Regions from separate parts of the Homo sapiens genome. Here regions 2 and 3 are each linked to region 1. Evidence: promoter capture Hi-C in 16 types of primary human blood cells and fetal thymus (Javierre and others, 2016). All regions are on one chromosome and are shown on one strand. The core of a region is centred on a gene start or on the middle of the fragment in contact, and the rest is flanking DNA. Distances in the headings are between cores, read along the strand shown. Region 1 holds the start of AXIN2 (axin 2). Region 2 overlaps CEP112 (centrosomal protein 112). Region 3 overlaps CEP112 (centrosomal protein 112).

Evidence for each region. The method cuts DNA at HindIII sites, captures the fragments that hold promoters and counts their contacts. A CHiCAGO score of 5 or more calls a contact.
Region 2: a fragment that was not itself captured here is called in contact with the fragment with the promoter of AXIN2 in region 1 in 1 of 17 cell types (megakaryocytes); the score reaches 5.1 in megakaryocytes.
Region 3: a contact is called between a fragment that was not itself captured here and the fragment with the promoter of AXIN2 in region 1, in 1 of 17 cell types (fetal thymus). The highest score is 6.1, in fetal thymus.

Annotation. Positions count from the first base shown.
Region 1 is chr17:65,559,298-65,563,423 of GRCh38, forward strand. It overlaps AXIN2 (axin 2), which reads right to left and starts at 2,351. Exons shown (of 11, transcript NM_004655.4): 1 at 2,153-2,351. RefSeq lists a silencer at 2,365-2,514. The HindIII fragment of the contact is 19,935 bases long and covers 1-4,126 here.
Region 2 is chr17:66,135,646-66,139,549 of GRCh38, forward strand. The region is part of intron 4 of CEP112 (centrosomal protein 112); the gene reads right to left. Among named protein-coding and RNA genes, the nearest start is that of CEP112, 55 kb to the right of the region's middle. The HindIII fragment of the contact is 313 bases long and covers 1,454-1,766 here.
Region 3 is chr17:66,165,640-66,169,691 of GRCh38, forward strand. The region is part of intron 4 of CEP112 (centrosomal protein 112); the gene reads right to left. Among named protein-coding and RNA genes, the nearest start is that of CEP112, 24 kb to the right of the region's middle. The HindIII fragment of the contact is 1,822 bases long and covers 855-2,676 here.

The sequences.
Region 1 (4,126 bases), core at 1,101-3,600:
CTCTTCCCACTCCTTAAAAATTCAGAAGATCCTGGCCCAAGAGAAGCCCGCCCAGCATAGGCGGATTGGGCTCCCGGACTCCCAGATTCAGCACGCAAACACCCCCTCCCCAACTCAGATTTGAGTGTTCGCTACGCGCCCCCTACCCCCACCAAGAATCCAGCTCAGTCAACACCTCTGTCTTCCCTGACCTCCCCCCAAACCAGAAACCAACTCACTCAGGGGAGACTTTCATCTTCAAACTTTGAGAGAGAGCTGAGAAGCCTCGGAACCGTCGCCCCCGTGCCCCCAACCCACCTCCCGGATCCGCGAAACCTACAAAACTGGATCACCAGCCGTCTCACGCCACTACTGCCTGTGCCAAGAATCCCAAACTCTACTGATTTCAAGCCTGTCTTTTTTCCAAAGAAAAAAGTCTTATCTAACCAATAAACAAGCTGCTTTCCCTAGCACGGAAAAGATCAAACTAAGAAGGGTAGGGGCTGAACGGGGTGCAACCCCGGGCGAGAAGCCAGGGACCCCGGATCTGGGATGGGTGCACGCTGAACCCGACCAGAGCCTCGAGCCGCGGGGCTGGGCGGCGCGGCCCACGGAGAAGTGGGGCTGCCGTTGGCACCGCGCTACCCGGGCGGTGGGAGGTGGAGCGGCCCCGTTACCTGGAAGACGAAGGCCGCCGAAGCCAGGCTCTCATGTCCTCCGAGCCCCTCCGGCCCGGTCCCCCGGCCCAAATGCAACTGAACGCCTCCAGAGCCCTGGCGGGCACACCTCGAGGCCGGAACCCCGGGACACGCCAGCAGCGCCCCGAGCCCGGGCGGGGGGTCGGTCCCCGGCGCCGCCGTTTGCAGAGGCGCCCGCAGAAAAAGCACAGAAAGCAGCAGCCTAGTCCAGAAATGGCGACGCGCGGAGTCTCTGCCTCTCCGCAAAAGGGGCCGGGGCGGCCACGGGCGAGGGGCCCGGGCCGGGAGGAGGGACGCGAGGGACACGGGCGCCCCGGACTTGGGCCGGTCCTGCGCGCAGACTGAGCCTCCGCCAGCGCTGTGGGCCCCTTAGCGCGGACCCGCGGCAGGGAGGGGAAAAGGGGAGGGGGAAGAGAAGTAGGAGGAGAGGATGGGGCGGAGGAGAGGCGGGGGGCGGGGGAGGGCAAGCGGGGGGCGCCGCTACCCTTTCATCCCACCTCCCAAAGGCACTCCCGCGCGCACTCACACGCCGACTCACATCCATAACCGCGACAGCGACGCGACCCCCGGGGGGTATCTGCCCCCTCTCCGCCCCCGCCACTGCCGCCACTCGGATAAGTCTCCTCTCTGGGCCCCCCGCCAACCCGGTCACCGCGCTGGGGAGGGGGCTCCGGCGCAGGGCGCGCAAGGCTGCCCGGCCAAGCCCCCCGGAACGCTGGGCGCCGGGTCCGCCGCTCCCCTCCGCGCCGGCCCCTAGCGCGCCCCGAAATAGCCGGCCTGCCAACTTCAAAGGGCCGCCCCGCACATCAAAGCGCGCGGTCCGCCCGGCCGCCTCGGCCTCGGCACTCACCATTGATCCCCGCGCGCGCTCGGCGGCGAGACCTCGCAGGCGCCCCTGGCAGGGGCCCGGCCCCGGCCCCCGGCTCGGCTCGCGGCGGCAGCCCCGGGCCCCCCCGGGCCGGCCGCGGCGTCGGGGAACATGGGGAGTCGTGCGGCGGGGGAGGGGGTGCGGGAAACAACAATCCCGGGTTCAGAGCGAAAGCCACCGGCCGGGGAGGGGGAACGGCGCGCCCCGCCGCCCCTTTTATGCAAAAGATCCGAGCGGGCCTCCGCCCCCGCCCGGCCCGGCTTTCAACGCAGGTCCTGTTTCCAGCAGTCACTCGGCGCACCAAATGTCCTCCGGGCGCTTCCAACAAAAACTGCGCTGTGGATTTAACTGTGCACTTCAAAGGCGCGAGCCGAGCGCACGGTCCTGAAAGGGAGGTACGCGCCGGCCGCGCCCCGGGCCGCCCCCCGCAGCCCCGCCACCGCTCCGCAGGGCCGCCCCGCCCGCGCCCCCCTCCAGGCCCGGCCTCCGCCTGGCCGGGCCCCCTCCCGCCCCCCGCGCCCACGCCGCGGCTCGGCGCGACCTCGCCCCCTGTAAGAGGGGGGCTTTCTTTGAAGCGGCTCCGCTGGGGCCGAGCTTCCACCCCCACCTTTTACAGCAGGGCCTTCGGCGGGCGCCTCGGCCGCCGGGCGGCCCCGAAATCCATCGCTCTGAGGGGTTATTTTTATTTCCCGGCTCTCGGGCTGTTACTGAGTTGCCAGGACCTTATCAAAGCGCAGCCGGCTCCAGCCGACTCCCCCGGGCCAGGCTCGCGGAGCCAGTGATCCCGCCGCGCCAATCACAGCCGCGCTCGGCCGGCCCGCGCCGCCCGCCTTAAAGGGACAGCGCCCCGCGCCCGCCCCGCCCCGCCCCGGCCCGCCCCCGCCGCACGCTCCGCTCCCGCGTTAACCCTTCCCCGGCCTCTCCTCCGCCCCCTGCCAGCCCCCCGCGGCCCCGAGGGCATTCTCAGCCCGAGTTCTGATTTCTTCTTTTAAGTTCTCCGGCCTCTTTGCTCCCGCCTCCTCCCCCTGCCTGCCCTCGCTCTCCCCGGCTCTGGAATGCAACAGTTTCTGGTAGCATTATGGCCATCGCAAGAACTGCAAGCAAGCAGATTTTTTTTTTTCTATCATCAAACGCTTTTCTACCTCTATTCAAGTTTCCCTGGGAATTTGGGCTTGGAGGACTTTATAAAGGGAGTTCCGGCCCTGGGGTTGGCTGGCCCGCTGTCATAGGGCGGACTCGGGCCCAGCCGCTGGAGGCGTGTGCATGCCTGTGCGCGCTTGTGCACGTGCATCTGAGTTCGGGTAAATATAGGACTGCAGTTGGTGGATGAATTGCGTTTGTGCATGTGTGAAAGTGGGGTGTGAATCCGCCAGTATAGGCCTGAGTGCTAACACCAGTTAGGAGGCATACCTCAGTGCCCTGAAGACCTAGGTCCAGCTTCCTAACCTGCTGGCCATAAGACCCTCGTAGCGGCACACATTGGCCATCTCTCCCAAACAACTGCATACCCGTTACTCTTCCAAAGTCCCCTCTTCTGCCATATGTTACATATTAAACCGATAGGAATATCTTTTTTCCCACTCCAAACGACAAGGCATGCATGCCGTTTTAATGTATCGAAAACTCCTCACCCCATTGTCACCTTTGAATTTCTCCCACATTTGCCCAAAAACGTTTATAAGGCACACACAACCTTCTCTTCTCCGTTAAAATGAGAAAATATGTCACAAACCCAGAGCATTGTGTATTTATTCTGCTGCTGCTATAGAATGATTCCTTATGTTATGAGCGAATAATTAACTTTTCTTCCTTTTAAAAAACAAAGGGCCGGGGACGGTGGCTCATGCCTGTAATCCCAGCATTTTGGGAGGCCCATGCTGGAGGATCATCTGAGGTCAGGAGTTCGAGACCAGCCTGCCTAATATGGCGAAACCCCGTCTCTACTAAAAATACAAAAATCAGCCGGGTGTGGTGGCACGTGCCTGTAGTCCCAGCTACTCGGGAGGCTGAGGCAGGAGAATCGCTTGAACCTAGGAGACGGGGGTGGGGGGGTTGCAGTGAGCCAAGATGGCACCACTGCACGCCAGGCTGGGTGACAAAGCGAGACTCCCTCAAAAAAAAAAAAAAAAAACACACACACACACACACATAAAGGTGTGAACCAAAGAGATCCAAGAAGTGAAAGGCAGAGTCCTGGCCTCAGAGCTGTGCAAGGCTCTTACTCTCCAACTTAATGGATGACGAGCCCTTTTAAATGCGAGATGGCCTGTCATTAGGCCTTCAGAACTTTAAAACATGCAAGAATTGTGGCTCTATCTAGGTATCCATAGAAAAAGAGAAGGAAGAGGCTGGGTGTGGTGGCTCACCCGTGTAATCCCAGCACTTCGGGAGGCCAAGGCAGGCGGATCACCTGAGGTCAGGCATTCGAGACCAGCCTGGCCAACATAGTGAAACCCTGTCCCTACTAAAACTACAAATATTAGCCAGGCGTGGTGGGGGGCGCCTGTAGTCCCAGCTACTCGGGAGGCTGAGGCAGGAGAATCATTTAAACACAGGAGGTTAAGGTTGCAGTGAGCCTGGG
Region 2 (3,904 bases), core at 360-2,859, 580 kb after region 1:
TTCCCTGACATGCCCTTTACTACTCTTAAGCCATAAAACTAGGAGAATATAAATTTTCCCTTTCACTTTTTCCTAATGAGAAAATATTTCAACAGGAATTCACAAACACTCTCAAAGTATCAATGCTGATTCTTAATACTAGAAAAATATAAACTTATCCCTGTACAGATAAAGAAATAAGGAATGATACTATATATAGATATAGATATAGATATAGATATATAGATATAAAGCCTAAAGGAAGACCAATCAAATGTCCTCCTGTAAAAGAAAATTACTTTAGGGGGTGACGTCAGATGTCAGCAAGACTCTCCTTCTCTCAATGGACACATAAATTCAACAACAATACATAGACCAAAATTTCCTTTGTGAGACATCCAGAGACCAGATGAGAGGCTCCTGTACTCCAGGCAAGCATGAAACCAACCACACTGAAGCCAGTAGGAAAATTTGTGGAATCCTCTTGCGCCATAAGCAAGGTTACTTAAGGGACTTGTTGCTGTCTTGCCTGAATCTTAGCTGTGACAGGAAAGGGTCCCAGGTTGGGAACTGCTGAGAACGAAGCCTCCAGTTTGGACTAGTATGCAGTAACTGACCATAGCCCCTCCCACCAGCTCAGAACTAGCAGGTGGAAACCCCCAGTCCCAACTTCTCCCTGGGGAACGAAAAAGCTGAAGCATCTGTCCAACATTCTGGCTTTTGGAAGGGGCTGCCTAAGGGACCGGATTCTGCAAGTACTCACAGGACTGGTATTCTCTAAATGCCTGGGGACCACTGAGAACAAAGGTGGTGGTTTGGACTAGTAAACACTCACGGCCAGAGCTCCTACCCCTGGCTCAGCACAATTAGAAAAACTCATGGTCCACAGCTTCTCCCTGGGGAGGGAAAGAGAAAACTAAAGCATATATCCAACATTCAGACTCTTGGGGGACTGCCCAAGGAACTTGTTTCTGTCTCATCTGTCTTGAAGCACTGGTGGGACGCAGCATAAACTAAGTGCCTAGGGGCAGCTGAAACTAAAAAAGCAAGTAATAACCAAAAAAGGATTGAGCCAGTGTGCTACTAGCTCCAGAAGGCCCATGGTACAAGACACAGAATAAGAAGGAACAAGAGATTATGATCTCCTAAAAACAGAAACCAGAAAATCCCACTATTTAGAAATTTACACACAGAAGTCCAGAGAAGACATATCCACAGAAAAAGTTTATGAGGACCCCAGAATCTCTACTCAGGCCGATTCTTGAAGGTCTGCCCCTGTACAAAGCCAATCCATAAAGACTGGGAGAAGCGGCTGTTTTTCAAATATGCAGACATTAACACAAAGGGTCAAGGAAAATGAAAAATGGCCCAAAGAAAGGAACAAAATAAATCTCCAGAAACCAACCCTAAAGAAATGAAGGTAAATGGATTAGCTGGTAAGAATTAAAAACAACCATAATCAAAATATTCAATAAGCTTAGGATAAATTATGCATAAACAAAATGAGTATTTTAACAAACAAAATATTTTTAAAAAGAAAAATTTGAGGGCTGAAGAATACAATAACTGAACTAAAAACTTAACTAAAGGGGCTCAACAGCAGCCTTGATCAAGTACAAGAAAGAATCAGTAAACTCAAAGACAGGACATTTGAAATTATACATTCCACAAGAGCAAAAATGTTTTTAAAAGACTGAAGAAAACATAAGAAACTTATGAGACACTATCAAGCAGGCCAATTTACATATTACTAAAGTTAGAGAAAGAGAAGAGAGAGAAAAGCAGTAAGCTTATTTAAAGAACTAATCTGAAGAGAAAAATGGACATCCAGATTTATGAAGCTCAAAGAATCCCAAGTAGGTTGAATGTAAAGAGATCTACACCAGGACACATTATAATCAAATTGCCAAAAGTCAAAGACAAAGAATTTTGAAATCAAAAAGAGAAAAGCAACTCACTACATACAAAGGAGACTCATAAAACTGTAAAAGGATTTTTCAACAGAAACTTTATAGGCCAGGAGAGAATGGGATGATATATGCAAAGTACTGAAAGAGAAAAACTGCCAGTCAAGGATATTATTATATACCATGCAAATCTGTCCTTTAAAAATGAAAGAGAGATACGGTCCCAGATAAACAAAAGTTGAAGGAGTTCATCACCACTACACTTGACTTAAAAGAAATTCTAAAGGGAGTTCTTCAAGTTGAAATGAAAGGACACTAGTTAGTAGCATGAAAACACATGAAAATATGAAACTCACTGATAAAATTATATATAAAATACAGATTACTCTATTGATATAATAGTGGTGCATAAATCATTTTCAACTTCAACATAAAAATGAAAAGATGAAAGTCTTAAAAATAACTATAACAGTTACTGAAACACCAGGAGTCCAGTCTAGGTCCCATTGCTCACCGCACAGAAAGTCAATCAATGAGATCAATGAGACAATGAGTATTGCTAGGGAAGAAGGCTTTATTTGGGCACTGCAGCCAAGCAGATGGGAGATCAGTATCAAATCCATCTCCTCGCCCAACTAAAATTAGTTTATATAGCAGGAAGAACTGTAACTACCTGTGGGAAAACAGGAATTAGGGACTGGTAAGGAAGAGGAGTTCGTCAACAGGAAGCAGGTGGTTGGTCAGGCAATCATGATAGGTGAGGGGTCTGGCATAACATTGTCTAGATGCAGTGATCTGGTAAGTTTCAGTTCCTTGATACTATCTGGGATACCTGATGGTTGGTTTCCAGAGACAGGAACTCAAATAAGACAAACGTTAAGTTTCTCCAGTGTTAAGACTGGGTGGGTTAATTTCTATGTTTATTCAAAAAAACCATAAACATCCATTTTATGGGACAACTTGGATGGTTTCATACCACAAAATAATTTGTTAATGAATACAGAATATTAAAAGGTGAAAATCGGGACATTAATAACAAAGTGTGTGAGTAAAAGTATTGAATTTTTTAATGCAATCGAAGTTATCAGCTTAAAATAGGTTGTTACAACTATAAGATGATTTATGTAAGCCTTATGGTAACACAAATTCTTTAAATATAGTAAGTACACAAAACATAAAAAAAAAGAATCAAAGCAAACCACAGTAACAATAAACACATCATCAAATCACAAAGAAATATAAGGAAGAAATGAACAAAGGAATTATATAACAGTCAGAAAGCAATTAACAAAATGACTTATTAAGTCCACAAATGTGTGAAAATTAAACAACAAATTCTCATCAATCAATGAGTCAAATAAGAAAGCAAAATAAAGGAAATTAGAAAACATCTTGAGACAAATGAAAACAAAAACACAACATACCAAAATGTGTAGGATTCAGTGAAAGCAGTGCTAAGAGGAAAATTTACAACTGTAAAAGCTTATATTAAAAAAGAAAAAAAACTCTAACAACCTAGATGCACACCTTAAGGAACTAAAAAAAGAACAAACTAAACTCAAAGCCAGCAGAAGGAAGTAAATATTAATAGTAAGGATTAGGGCAGGGATAAAACAGAAAATAGAAAAACAACAGAGAAAATGAAACTAAGAGTTGATTTATTGAAATGATCAACAAAATTGAAAAACCTTTGGCTACACAGAATAAGAAAAAAGGAGAGAAGACTAAACAACTAAAATCAGAAATGAAAGATAAGACATTACACTCAATTTAACAGAAATAAAAAGAATGACTGGGTGCAGTGGCTCATGCCTGTAATCCCAACACTTTGGGAGGCTGAGGCAGGAGGACTGCTGGAGCCCAGGAGTACATGACCAGCCTCAGCAACATAGTGAGCCTCATTTCTACAAAAAAATAAAAATAATAAAAATTAGCTGGATGTGGTGGCACACACCTGAGGTCCCAGCTACTTGGGAGGATGAGGTAGGATTGCTTCAGCCCAAGATGTCAAGGCGGCA
Region 3 (4,052 bases), core at 516-3,015, 610 kb after region 1:
AAAAATTAAATCAATATTTTTAAAGTGAAAAATGTTTGCTCACATAGATTAACTTCTTCAACCACAAGTGGGTTTTCATTATACTTGATCACCATCTGCTGGCCATGTTATTAAACTGCACACACAAATGAAATGCTAGCTATATTGGGGTAAGACATACAGAATCCCAGCTTTTTGCCACAATGCATTCCTGGAAAACCATATCATAAAGAGGATCATTATAAAGCAAGTCACATTTTCCATAAGGGCAGGACCATAATTAGAATCTTCATTCCAAACTAAAATCTAGCATCAAATAACCCATGGCAAAATCTCATTAAAGCAAAGATGTAAAAACTATAGTCCTCTATAATTATTTAAAATAGGATAATTATTCTCCAAGTTCTTTCTTACAGGTATGAACACATGTATTATTTAGATGACCCAACATGAGTTAAAAGATAAATATAATTTATATAAAATTAGCCTAAATCTGATATGGTAAAAATAGTAGGTAGTTAATAATAATTATTTGCACTCTCCTAGAAATCCTAAGCAATCTGGTGTAGGCTCCTAATAAAATGGCACCTAATTAAATGCCTTCTTTTTCATCAATAAATTCCTCTCAAATAAGCAGAAGCAACGTGTTTCTTCCATTGTAAAGCAGTGTTTAAAGGTCAGGGTTTATTTAACATTACTCCTCTTCACCCTACCCTAACTTTTAATCAAAGTTTTCAGTAAAAATAATAAGTGCTATTAAATCATTTTTTTACATCTTTCCCTATCCCAGAACCTCACTGCACTTTGGTGATAAGCTACCAGACCACGTATACTTCACTGAAAAGACATAAAATTACTACAAGCCATTAACAAGAAGCTTCAAAACATTTTTCACAGAATTGTAAAGCAAGAATACAACCTATTACTTTTGTGTTCTTTGAGATAAAGCATGAAGAATATATAGATGATGTGAACTAAAATCAAAATATTAGTTACCAGCCGAGCACGGTGGCTCACACCTGTAATCCCAGCACTTTGGGAGGCCGAGGGAGGGGGATCACCTGAGGTCAGGAGTTCGAGACCAGCCTGGCCAGCACGATGAAACCTCGTGTCTACTAAAAATAAAAATAAAAAAATTAGCCAGGCGTGGTGGCACACGCCTGTAATCCCAGCTACTCAGGAGGCTGAGGCAGAAGAATCGCTTGAACCCGGGAGGCAGAGGTTGCAGTGAGCCGAGATCGTGCCACTGCACTCCAGCCTGGGTGACAGAGCAAGACTCCATCTCAAAAAAAAAAAAAAAAAAACACACAGTTACTTAGGCAGCTTCAAATATATGGCGTGAAAAAATGTAAACAATGAGGCCAGCCACTGTGTGTTCCTTCTATCCTTGAAAAAGAGGCCTATTACATTGTTTAAAGATTCCTATAAAGCCTCTTTTAAAATAGAATTACCATTCTTTATTTTGATATTGTGCAGGATTCATACTTACAATCATAACCTTTCTGCAGAGTCATAATTTATTTTTCTCAGGGAATACAAAATGACTTTTAGTAACTGAAAATAATTAATGACCAACAGACTTTAAGATAATACCCTTTGGGAGGATTAGTAATTAGGGAAGCAAAAGCATGGTCAAACAATCTAACAAGCAAGGCCCTGATGAACTATTACAATAATGATCACCATACCAGTGATGATGGTGGTAGCCGCAGCTAACACTTAACAGGCCCTCTGTCAAGGGCTCTACACGTCTTATTTCACTTTGTCCTTACAACTCCATTTGCAAATGGAGATAGTGGTAGTACTAACCCCGAAGTTAGTACTACCACTATCTCCATTTACGAGTGATGAAACTGGGGTTTAGAGAAATTAAGTAACTTGCCTGAGGACAGATGGTTGCCAAGTGTCAGAAGTGGAATGTGAACAAAGGCAAACTGCTTTCTTTCAGCTCAACCTAGAAATAACCAAAAACAAAGGTATAGCTGCCCAGGATTGCTGACGCAGCACAAGTGGAAAAAAACAGATAAAACTGAAATTTCCATATTTGCTGCATAAAGTACTTATGCCTATATGATACACTAGAAAGAACATGGGTGTGAAATCATAAGGCCCTGCATTCCAATATTGGATCCATCACTGGAAAAGTCACTGGACTTTCCTGAAGCTGTTATCTTGTCTATAAATACAAAAGGGCAATGATGTCAGCCTCACTGGACTATAGAGAGGATTCAATCTGATGACTTGGAAAAGATTTCTAGAACAGTACCTAGCATGCAGTAGGAGATCCATAAATGGTATGACTTGCCTCACTTGGCCTCTGCTTTCACAAATTAGAAATACAAGTGGAATCCACAAACATTTATTTACTAGAAAATTTTTTATTTTTATGTTTAAATGTATATATATCTGTTATACAAATTTATTAATTTGCAATGTGTATGCACAAACATTTTAACAAGATGATATTTCAGAAGGCAACTGAACAGTATCTATCAAAATAAGAGTGTGATTATTAGAAATACCATAGACACATTTTTTTTACAAGAACGTTTTTAAATGTACACTCCAAACTAGTCCAAATCCCTAAAGCTAACCACCTTTAACAGTTTCATGTGTGGTACCCAGAAAGATTCCCTGCACACGAACACATATGTATCCACAGAGCCTCTAAAACACATATACACAAACACAAACGGAAGCTTCCTATACTTTATGTACTTCTTTTTAACTTTATCCTATTAGATCTTGCCATAATAACCTATATATATGTGTGTGTATATATATGTGTATATGTGTGTGTGTGTGTATATATATGTATATATATGTGTGTGTATATATGTATATGTGTGTGTATATATGTATATATGTGTGTGTGTATATATATGTATATATGTGTGTGTATATATATGTATATATGTGTGTGTGTGTGTATATATATATATATTTTTAACCATTGCACAAGATGTTGAACCAACTAATAACTCCACCAACAAAGCAATTTCTCACCTAGGAGTCCATAATAGCCCAAAACAGATGCAGGCATATAATAATCCTTCTTGATATTCTAACTGATAATTTGGCATCTTGAAATCATGGACCAAACTAACAGCCAAAGTTGTCCACATCCTTACCATTCCTGTCTTTTTGTGGGCACTTGGAAATTATATTACAAACCCTCCAACTACAAACCCCAACATCGGTATTTCACTTTCTGTCCAATAGGGAACATCCCACCACTATATAAAAAGGCTCTCACCCATGCTTCTCCTTGCTACTTCTGCCTCCTGACCAACCCTTGTGCTTCTCCACATGGCCTGCATGGTGTGGCATGCCTCCCTCCTCTTGGAAACTGTGAGAAATAAACTCTTCTTTCAAAGGCAACTTGTCTCTATGTCTGTCATCGTATAATGTCTGATTAAAACAAACCCTGGGTGCATTTTTAAATAAGGTGCCTGATGATGGATTACTAGGATGTAAACTCAGGCATTCTTTATAACAATAAAAAATTAAAAGCAGAAGAGACAGATTAAATTATAGTATATCCACATTATGGATTATCTGTAATTTAGAAGTCCACATGATACAGGTTTAAGACATAGCTGAGTAAAAAAAAGAGCAAGTCTCAGAACAGTATGTACATTATGAGCCAATTTTTAATTTCTTCTTTTTTTTTTTTTTTTTTTGAGACAGAGTCTCACTCTGTCACCCAGGCTGGAATGCAGTGGTGCAATCTCAGCTCACTACATCCTCTGGCTCCTGGGTTCAAGCGATTCTCCTGCCTCGGCCTCCCGAGTAGCTGGGACTACAGGCACCCACCACCATGCCCAGCTAATTTTTTTGTATTTTTAGTAGAGACGGGGTTTCACCATATTGGCCAAGCTGGTATCGAACTCCTGACCTTGTGATCCGCCCGCCCTGGCCTCCCAAAGAGCTGGGATTACAGGCATAAGCCACCGCACCCGGCCTGTAATTTCTTAATTATATAGGTGTGGATGTCTATTGTAAAATGATATGCACAAAATTGTTAATGGTGATTACCACTCCAAAGTGGGATAAAGAGGACACAGAAGGAT